Regions from separate parts of the Homo sapiens genome. Here region 2 is linked to region 1. The links are contacts of gene promoters, found by promoter capture Hi-C in blood cells and fetal thymus (Javierre and others, 2016). All regions are on one chromosome and are shown on one strand. Each heading gives the region's core, a stretch centred on a gene start or on the middle of the fragment in contact. The rest is flanking DNA. Distances are from core to core; before and after follow the strand shown. Region 1 holds the start of KRTAP17-1 (keratin associated protein 17-1). Region 2 holds the start of KRT222 (keratin 222).

Region 1 (5,228 bases), core at 1,147-3,646:
TAGCAGCTTCATTCATAATAGCCAGAAACACAAAAGAATCCAAATGCCCATAAGTAGGTGAATATATTTTTAATGTAGTTTATCTGTATAATGGGATGCCATTCAGTAGAAAAAAAAATGAATTATTGATACCTGCAACAATGAACAGATACAAAACATGATAGGCAAAATGAAAAATAGTGCATACTGCATGATTTCTTTTATATGAAATTCTAGACATGGTGAAATCTGTAGTAACATAAAGAACAGGTTGATGGTTGCCAGGGTCTGGGGGTGGGGGAAGAACTGACTGCAAAGACAAACTGGGAATTTTGGGGGTGATGGAAAGTTCCATAAAGATCTTGAGTGCAGTGGTGGTTACATAAGTATACACGAATGTCAGATCACATCATACTGTTCACTAAAAATGGGAACTTTTTATTATATGTAAATTATATTTCAATAAAGTTGACCATAAAAAATGAAACAAAAAAATTTTTTAAAGAAAAAGGTAAAAGCAACATAATCCCAGTTTTATTCATAACTATGCTTAGAAAACAGTCTGGAAAGCTTATCAGTAATAGACTCTGAGTGGTGAGCCTTCGAATGCTATATTCTTTATATGTTTCTGTATTTTTTCATTTTTTAGAGTTCATTGCTATGCTTATAATCAGAAAAAAATTTTTCTTTGTCAAATGAAACATCGCTTTGTAGGCATAAAAATAAATACTATTTTTCCAGGGCAAGAGCAAAATTAGTTTTATTACACACACAGCTTAAGGTCACTTTCAACAAAAGGTTGATCAACTGTCTTTTGAGTTTTAACCTCCCAGGTGGACCCACACACCTTGGCTGGGCCCTACCTAGCAGAGGTATACTCACTCCCTCCTCCTTAGAACTCAGGCAGAAGAAACGTAGCTGGTTCCAGGTAAGACAACCTAGCACAGAAAAGTGAGACTGGACCAAGCATGAGGCTGGAAGAAGGAACTGTACTGCGCAGAACATCCTCAGAAACTGTGAATTCACTAGCTTTGCCATTAGAAATCCTTTCCATTCAGAACCAATCTTGTTTTACCAAAGCCTCCTTTCCGACTTTGCCAGAAAGTTCTGATCAAGCCTGAAGCCCTCCTGCAGAACCATCCTAGGAGAGCTGTAGTGCAGAAGAAAGCCATGCCCCTCAATCACCATTAAATGTGGCCAGCATCAGCATTCACCCAGGAGCTTTTAAAAATGCAGGTCCCTAGGGACTCTAGGCCCTAGAGCTAACGGGTAAAATCTCCAGTGATAAAACCCAATGATCTATATTTTTAAAAGCTTTTCAAGTGAATCTCATGCAGCACACGGAAGCTTCCGTCTAGATCTATGGTTCTCAAACTTCAGTGCATAAGAATTATCTAAGGTTCTTGTTAAAAACACAGATTCCCAGGCCACACTTTGGTGGATTCTGATTCTGTATGTCTTAGGGAGGGCCTCAGAGTCTCCAGTTTTAACAAGCTCCCAGGTGATTCCGACGCAGGTGATCCAAAAACCACAATTCAAAAACCCTAAGGCAGATGCCAGAGTGAATTTTTCTAACCCAGTCCTCAGCAGGGAGGTCAAGGAAGAGGCAAGAGAACTAATTAGGTTATGCCAGCATGCTCAAATTTATTAAGAGGCTCACAAAGAAGATGGACCTTTTTTGCATCTCAAAGCTGCAGAAAGCCAGGGCGGAGGATCAGTCCCAAAGACACCTTGAAGAAGAGGATGTCTTATAGTACAAGACATTGAACTTCATGTGAATAAGTAAAGTATTGGGGATTCACCCTTGAGCTTGGGATCACTTAGTTGTGACCGAGTTTTAATGTTTCATCAGAGTATGGCTCTTGTTCTCGGTGCCTTGAAATACCAGAGAAGGTGTTGGAGAACAAGCCCTCCTCTACAAATCACAGAAAGACAAGACACTGTCTTGGGGGTATGGAAGGTTCTGGACACGAGGGGCTGTCCCCCTGGAGCAGATGGAGGCTTTCGGTGGGACTGCATCAGTGGTGGAGGGAAAGGTCTTCATTTTGTGTCGCATATAGGTGTGGGCTGGCAGCACACAGGCCCACAGCACCCGGAGCCGCAGCAACTGGACCCACAGCAACTGGATCCACAGCAGCCACCCCCGCAGCCTCCGCAGCCTCCACAGCCTCCGCAGCCAGATCCACAGCAAGACGATCCGCAGCAGCTGCCCCCGCAGCCAGAGCCCCCGCAGCCAGAGCCCCCACAGCCACAGCAGGAGCCGCAGCAGCCACAGCAGCCCGGCTGACAGCAGCACTCTTCACAGCAGTTTTGCTCCTGGGTGCAGCAGGTGAAGCAGTCCCCCGGGCAGCACCCCATGGTCCGGGCCCGTCAGCTCGCAGGTCGGTAACGCAGCCGGAGTTCCCCACGACTGACGGTGGCCAGCCATCTGGATGGCAGCTTTTATATCCCCTCACCCAGGCATGAGGGACGGGATGTTTTCTTTGTTATTATTTATGCAAGTTTCCATAAGACCGGCTCATTAACTGGCTGTTTATTTTCCAGTCCTGAGTACCTCAACTCATAAAAACGCCCCACTCCTGCCAACTGCTGTTTATCCAGAGGGTAAAAATACATCTTCGAAAAGACCTGTCATCATGGCCAAGCATCTGCCAGCTGTCATTAGCCCAGGTTGGAGATGGGAAGGGGAAGCCGGCCACAGCTTCTGGCTCTGGAATGAGGGGCTTGCCTTCCACATCTTCGCAGGTTGGCGATGGACCCCATCTTCCATGGATGCTAGTCCTGGAAAGGCAGACCGGCAACAGCCGAATGCTCTGTTCCCCCTGACACCAGTGGAGGCTACTGAGAACGCCTGGTCACGTGGCTCCTCCCAGGTGGAAATGGCATCCTCATCCCGGTTCATGTGAGCCAGGCAAATGTTTGTGTCTGTGTGTGGTATGGGGAGTGTGCCACACGTTTAGGCTTGGCCGGTGAGCATCAGTCATGAGTAATAACTGCCCTGTGAAACCGAGAGAGACTCATCGTAAAGCTGCAAGAAGCTGGTAAGGCATGGTCTGTCTCGGCGGCAAGGTGAGCTGAATATTCGCACTTCTCTCTAAATAGGTGGGAAGAACTGAGATCAGAACCCTCTACCCACCCCCACTCCAGCCCCAGGCCTTTCCTTGACCGGGGAAGGAAGAGATGCAGGAGGAGGAAGAAGAGGAGAAGGGGAGGAAGAAAGGAAAGAAGAAAAGAAAGAAGAAAGCAGGAAGGAGATCAGTAAATATCCAAAATGCTACATTAAAATGGGAATGTAACGCACTTTTTTTAAGAGTTCGAACCTTATAGACCATCTGGCAGAAGGAGAAATTAGAATACAAAATACCCAGAGTGTCATCCCAAGGAATAAAATGCCTTTGCAAGGAGTCTAAAATCTACAGATGGTTCAGGTCCATGTGTAAATTTTGAGATGGGTCAAAATTTCTGTCTCTTTCTTGGACTTTGGTACCTTGTTCTCCTCTTGGAGTGCCCATGGCAGCCCTGGAGCTGGAATACAACATCTAGTAGGGGTAGAGGACAGAAGATAGGGGTGGGGTGGGAATGGAAGGAGGGATGGGAGTAAGGATCTGGATCAAGGGATCTAGTCCTTCCCTTTTCATTTCCCTTTCTTTGTAAGATGGGCTAGAAGTAAGACAGCCTCTAAGAAGGGCTAGAAGAACTAAGGACAGGGTGGGAGTCGGGAGGGTAAATGATGAATGAGTTACTTGGATCTGATATGATACTCAATACTTCACAGGATATGGAATTTTAGAGCTGGGAGGAACCCCTGAAACATCATCTGGTCCAGGGTTTTATATCAGAATTGCCTAAAAGGGGGCCTTTTGAAAAATACAGATTCCCAAACTGTATTCCAGTCCTTATGATAAATCAGAATGTGTGCTTATGAGAGCTTGAGAAGCTATATATTTTAAACTTTCTCAGGTAACTTGGGTTACATTAGGAAACACTGATATAATCTAATCCTATCATGACCATCACTGCCAAGCACTTGTGTTTTACAGAAGATGATACCAAGGCCCAGAGATGACACATCCGTGGTAGATTGGACCCATGGCCCAGATGTTCTCCCTCCTGGTCCACTGTTTCTTCCACCATACCACATCCACAGATGGGCACCTCTGAGTGAGTATAATACAGCAATGTCTATGGCAGACGTGTCCTTTTTTGTTTGTTTGTTTGTTTTTTTGAGATGGAGTCTCACTCTGCTGCCCAGGCTGGAGCGCAGTAGCTTGATCTTGGCTCATGGCAACTTCCGCCTCCTGGGCTCAAACGATGCTCCTGACTTAGCCTCCCAAGTACCTGGGATTACAGGCACGCACCAACAAGCCCAGCTAATTGCTGTATTTTTAGTAGAGACAGGGTTTCGCCATGTCGCACAGGCTGGTCTGGATCTCCTGACCTCAAGTGATCTGCCCGCCTCGGCCTCCCGAAGTGCTGGGATTACAGGCGTGAGCCACTGCACCCGGCCGACACATCCTTTTACATATTTATTTATTTTAATAAGAGGTCAAGCATTCCCAGGATAAAAGGTACAAAAGAGTAGAAAGTCTTCCTCATCTTCCAATGTCTCACCATTCAGTTCTCCTGCCTCTCACCCACCCCCTCGCTGCTCCCATAATTACTTAACCCCTGTGTACCTGAATTTCTTCATCTATAAAACAGAAATTAGGATAATAATAGTAGCAGTGTCGTAGAGCTGTTTTGATTAAATGAGTAAATATAAATGTATACATATTGAACACTTGGTTGTTTGAACAACTTGAAAATATAAATTATCATACTTTTATATTTAACAATTCATATACTCATGAGCATTTACTCAGATTAAGTACAACATTCAGTGTGCAACTCAAATTATACACTATGATTTCAATTGTGTAAATGTACATGTCATGATGAGGACTTGAAGTCCTCATGGTGGTGTTATTTTTCTTCTGCAATTTATTTCACTGTTGGTCTTTCCACACAAATTGGGCAGCAGTAGGGACTTTTTATATTTACTGCCCCCAGGGTAGGGTTATTACTGTAGAAATGCAGAGAGAATGACTTAGGTCAATGCTTAGCTTATACAATTCAAAGTAGACTTTTGCAATGCAGGAGAGTGGGTGGTCAGATGACCAGGTCCATCTAGCCGCCTGGATGGGGTAATGAGAGGATGTAGACGTAGAGGATGTAGTTCTTTTGTGGACTAAAAGAACTCTAATATCTTG
Region 2 (5,092 bases), core at 758-3,257, 650 kb before region 1:
GTCTTGTGGCTTTCAAATATGGAACTGGCAGCTAAGCTTGTTCGGTAACTACAGTCCCAAGATGGCCCCTAAAGAAGTCTATCTCCCAAGATGAGTCCTAGGGTGATCCCCTTCTACATTGACTCTGGGCTGACCTGGGTCTTGCTTTAACCAGTAGAATGAGGCAGAAGGAATGCTGTGCCACTTCTAGACCTAAGTCTTAGGAAGCCTGATAGCTTCCACTTCTATGCTTTTGGGAGCCTTGGGCCAATATGCAAGAAGTCTGGATACCCTGCTGGAGAGATCCTGTAGAAAGGCCAGATGGAGAGAGACCCTGAGGCTACGTGAAGTGAGAGAGAAAGTCCCAGCAGAGCCAGCCTTTCGGCAATGCCCTGCCAAAGTGCCAGACACATAAGTGAGCCCAGTCATGCCCCAAGACGATTGAGGTCCCAGATGAGTTTTGGGGTGTTATACAACAATCTGTAACTAAAATAGCTTATTTAGAAATTTAAAAAAATAACTAATCAGGCTGTCTTGAATTTATTTCAGCTGACTTTCTGAGTTATTTGGAAGAAAATCCTCTAAAGTAGTTTCAAATTAAAAGACACTTTAAACAAAACTCACCGTAGTCTTGCTTTTTCATTTGAATTTACTCATTTTGGCCCTGTGACTTGTAAACTAAACTCATATTTCTACTACTGCAAAGTTAAGTGTTTTGTTTATGATTTTTAGAAGTTGTCATCTATTGATTTTTTTCTTCTGTTTGTAAAGGTGAATGAACTATCCCAATGCTTACCTGTACCAGTGACTTTGCTTAATCTAAGATGTTGATCATTCTTTATGAAGGCTGAAAATGTTATCTAGAGGTGAAATTTACAATGGAACTAAAAATGAGTGGCTAATGGAATAAAGGCCTGACATTTTTCTACCAATTTTTTTTTTTAAAATTTTGGGTGATATTCTTAAGTAAACTTTTTGCTGTATTTCAGGGTTTGGAAGATAACTTGAACCCATATATGATAGGTAAACTAAAAAATCCCCTAAATTTCTTAATCTTTGTTTCTAAAATATTTGTTTGTAAATTTGTTTAAAGACTTGAGACCTTAATTACTTGCTGAAGGTGATTGTTACTTTAAAACTAAGTCTATGAAATTAGGATTTAGTCCTTATCTAAGTAGGCTCTCTTTCTCTTTTTTAAATACTTAAATATTACAAGCTTTGTAATGGAAAGAAATGTTTCTCATCTTATAGTACAGAAGCAAAAATCTTAGTGGAGAATCGTTACCAATTTGGGGAATTTCAATGGTCATAATTTATATCATTGTTTCTGAATGCCATGTTCACACACTCAGATGATTTCTATTTATAACAATCTGGTATAAAATGGAACTCGTTAAAAAGATGATAGAAACCTTTTAGAAATATCTCTAGAAAGTGTACATGCTAATAAATCTTACTTAAAGATTTTTCATTTTAAAGATGTTATTTAAATTATCTCTGTAAATAACTCCAATAATATCTTTGAAGGGTATTTGGAATGGTTCCTTCCTGAAGATTGTAAGAGGTTAGAGTGCACCATTTTATGGTATGTTGACCCCATGTTAATGATAGGAACCTCACAATTTATATAAAAATCAAATGCATCAATCAACACTTACTTAATGGCAATTTAACAATATAATCACAGTATTTCCCCCTGTAGTCCCAGTCACACTGCAGTAGAAGCTAAATTCCTTCCCCAATAGATGCTGCATCGAAAAGGAAATACTGTACCTCAGAGAGGCCGGGACAGGAATTGGGTAGACATGGACTGTCTCCTTATTCTGGAAGGTGCCTGTCTGTATGAAATCATTACCTGGATCCTTGTTGAGAGCACCGTCTCTATCTGATTTCTGGTGAGGATCTTTTCATAGTTTGCCCTGATCTCATTGAGTAGCTGGGACAGTTCCATTCTTTTCCCATCCTCCACCTTGGCTAACTGAACCTTATCGATAGGATGAGTCGCTGCGGCAGTCTGCTCGGTCTGCGCGGAAGGCAGGGAGCCTCGCAGAGTTTTAAAGATGCAGAGCTCCTTTTTCGGAGGCCACGGAAATTCTCATCTTTCTAACTAATTATGCAAATACAGGGTAAACTCTTTGCTCCTATTGTTATTGGTATAGTAGAAATGTCAGATTCTTCATGAAGGAAAGGAAAATTTCAAAAACCTGTACTGGTTCCCTGTAAAAATTGAGCACTTTGAGGGGAGGGGGAGTTCATTTTTGTGAAAAGGAAATGGGGCATAACATAAGAAAATTGCCGGGCATGGTGGCTCATGCCTGTAATCCCAGCACTTTAGGAGGTTGAGGTGGGTGGATCACCTGAGGTCGGGAGTTCGAGATCAGCCTGGCCAACATGATGAAACCCTGTCTTTACTAAAAATACAAAAATTAGCTGGGCGTGGTGGTGGGTGCCTGTAATCCCAGCTACTCGGGAGGCTGAGGCAGGAGAATTGCTTGAACCCAGGAGGTGGAGGTTGCAGTGAGCCGAGATTGAGCCACTGCACTCCAGCCTGGGTGACAGAGTGAGACTCCATCTCCAAAAAAAAAAAAAAAAAAAAAAAAGAAAATTATATTTAGTTTTCTCAAAATGTTGCAGATAAGTGCTGGTAGACTATGAGAGTTGTGAGTTAACATTTCCAAAGTTTTAACAAGGATGAAGAAATAGACCTTTTGGTGTATTCACCAAAAGAACCCTTGAGTCCTTTGGAGGGTGTAGTCAGTGTACCATTCCATCCAATCGTTGCAATCACTTGAGCCCTTCGGAGGGTGTATTTGGCGTATCATTCCATCCAATCCTTGCAATCCCTGACATTTTCTAACCTGTAAAGATGAAAAGACTGAGGCCAGAGAGGTTGAGGCATCTTGCCCAAGGTTGCTCAGTGATGTATGACATCACTGGGACTGGCTCTTTGACAACTTGCTTGTGTTCCATGTATTACCCCTGCATATCTGCCTCTGCGTTCTCTCTCTCCCCTTCTAAATTCCTGGTTTAATCTTGCCAGCTGGTTGCTAGATGTGACAGAAATATGTCGTGAGAGTGGATCTATCATTATTGTTATTTGTGGAGTGGCTTTGGCTGAATTGTATCTGGAGCACAGTTCAGGAGATAATCAGACCTGGGTTCTAGCCCTTACAGGGCCTTTGCATGCATGTCCTGCTCTTTTAATTTCTGAATTAACTCACATCTGGCCAGGCCAGTCTATGCTGGGCATTCTCACAGCCCTCTCCAAACAAAGCTGTCCTACCCACAGCTCCTGGTGAGAGGAGAGGTTCCAGGTTATTTCTGACCCACCCCTCCCTACCTCCTGCACCTTCCCCATCAGTCACAACTTGATTATCTATAGATTGGTCAGAGACCTTTGGAGTAGGCTGAGACAGAAAGCTCTGACTAAAGAGAGTCATTAATGATTATCTAGGCCAAACTGATTCTCTTTCTTGGTAACTGGGACTGAGAAATATGAAGAGAATTAGGCTTGGGAGTGGAGGAGAGAGAAGAAAGCAATGAATTAAATTCCTAAATTAAATTCAGGGAGCAATGAATTAAATGCTTCCTGCTACTTTAGGTAGCTCCTGCTAATATCCGCCTGAAACACAGAGAGCTGAACTAGATTCCCTGGAGGGTCAGTCCTGGCAATCTGCATTTTAAATAGGTCTGCCAGCATTTCTTATGCACCCTAAATAAAGCAGCACTGTCCAGTGGAAATATAACACAAACCACAAATGCAAACCACAGATGTCCTTCCAAACTTTCTAGTAGCCATATCAAAAGATTGAAACAAAAAGAAGTGAAATTAATTTTACGACTATATTTTATTTAACTTGATATATCCAAAATGCAGCAACCCATATAAAATGTTAATGAGATCTTTTACATTATTCTTGATACTGTCTTTGAAATCCAAGTGTATTTTATACTTACATCGCATCTCAGCTTGGAACAGCCACATTTAAAGTGCTCAATAGCTGGGCACAGTGGCTCACCCCTGTAATCCCAGCACTTTGGGAGGCTGAGGCGGGAGGATGGCTTGAGCTCAGGAGTTCAAGACAAGCCTGGGCAACATAGAGAGACCCAGACTCTACAAAAAAAAAAAATTAAAAAATTAGCCAGGAGTAGTGGTGCAAGCCTGTAGTCCCACCTACTTGGGAGGCTGAGGTGGGAGGATCACTTGAGCCTGGGAAGATTGAGGCTGCAGTAAGCCAGATCACACCACTGCACTCCAGCCTGGGCAACAGAATGGGACCCTGTGTCAATAATTTGAGACATAATAATAAATATTTATTTATTGAGACAGACAGAGGGGATAGGATTTAGAAAGGTATTTTACAGGCATGTGAGTAATGCAGTAAACTATTTCTAGATCTCAAATTTTATTTTTCAAGGAAAAAATATTATTACTTTCCTTTACAAAAATACTACCCTTTATTTAAATAAAACAGTAACAATACCTCATTAAAGGCTATGGCATATATAAAATTGTGGGGTCCCTACAATTCTTGGTGCATGGACTGAGATTATGATGGAGATTGTCATAAATCCATTATAGTTATTAGAAAAGTAAATAATTTAAAAATGTTGACTTTATTAAAAGGAGAAAGCTTGTTATAACACATCTCACAAATGCCAAAATACTGTGTTTGGGGACCCTGGCTCCAGGGACATTCGTGTGTCTGTGTGTCTGCACACTGAAATCACTTCTGGAACTTTAAAAAATGGTGATGACTGTGTCCTCCTCCCAGAAAATCTGATTTAATTGGCTCAGGACGGGGCCTGGGCATCAGAATTTTTGAAAACTTCCCAGGAGTCTAATATGTAGCAAAGTTTGAGAGCCATTCTGATAAATGTAAGTTTTCTTCCACTCATTTATCCCTCTCTCTTCAGCCAGAGGAAACGAGTTGTTGGTACAATCATCTGAAGTTAAGATTCCTGCAGTTAAATATTGGCAAGTAGTTCATGCTGCAGCTATCACAACTCTGGGTGCATAGGCTCAGGCAGACCTTATTGCTTTATTTTTCTTTTTTCATGTTAATCTTTATTTTGAGTTCCTATTCTATGGAGGATGTGTGTTAAATCTCAT

What was found. Contacts are between HindIII fragments. The CHiCAGO score rates a contact against its expected background, and 5 or more counts as called.
Region 2: a contact is called between the fragment with the promoter of KRT222 here and the fragment with the promoter of KRTAP17-1 in region 1, in 5 of 17 cell types (M1 macrophages, M2 macrophages, M0 macrophages and 2 more). The highest score is 8.1, in M1 macrophages.

The regions. Positions count from the first base shown.
Region 1 is chr17:41,313,314-41,318,541 of GRCh38, forward strand. KRTAP17-1 (keratin associated protein 17-1) reads right to left here and starts at 2,397. Exons shown (of 1, transcript NM_031964.2): 1 at 1,599-2,397. The coding sequence starts at 2,337. The coding sequence ends at 2,020. The HindIII fragment of the contact is 4,540 bases long and covers 1,325-5,228 here.
Region 2 is chr17:40,663,170-40,668,261 of GRCh38, forward strand. It overlaps KRT222 (keratin 222), which reads right to left and starts at 2,008. Exons shown (of 6, transcript NM_152349.3): 1 at 1,835-2,008. The coding sequence starts at 1,930. The HindIII fragment of the contact is 3,418 bases long and covers 1,194-4,611 here.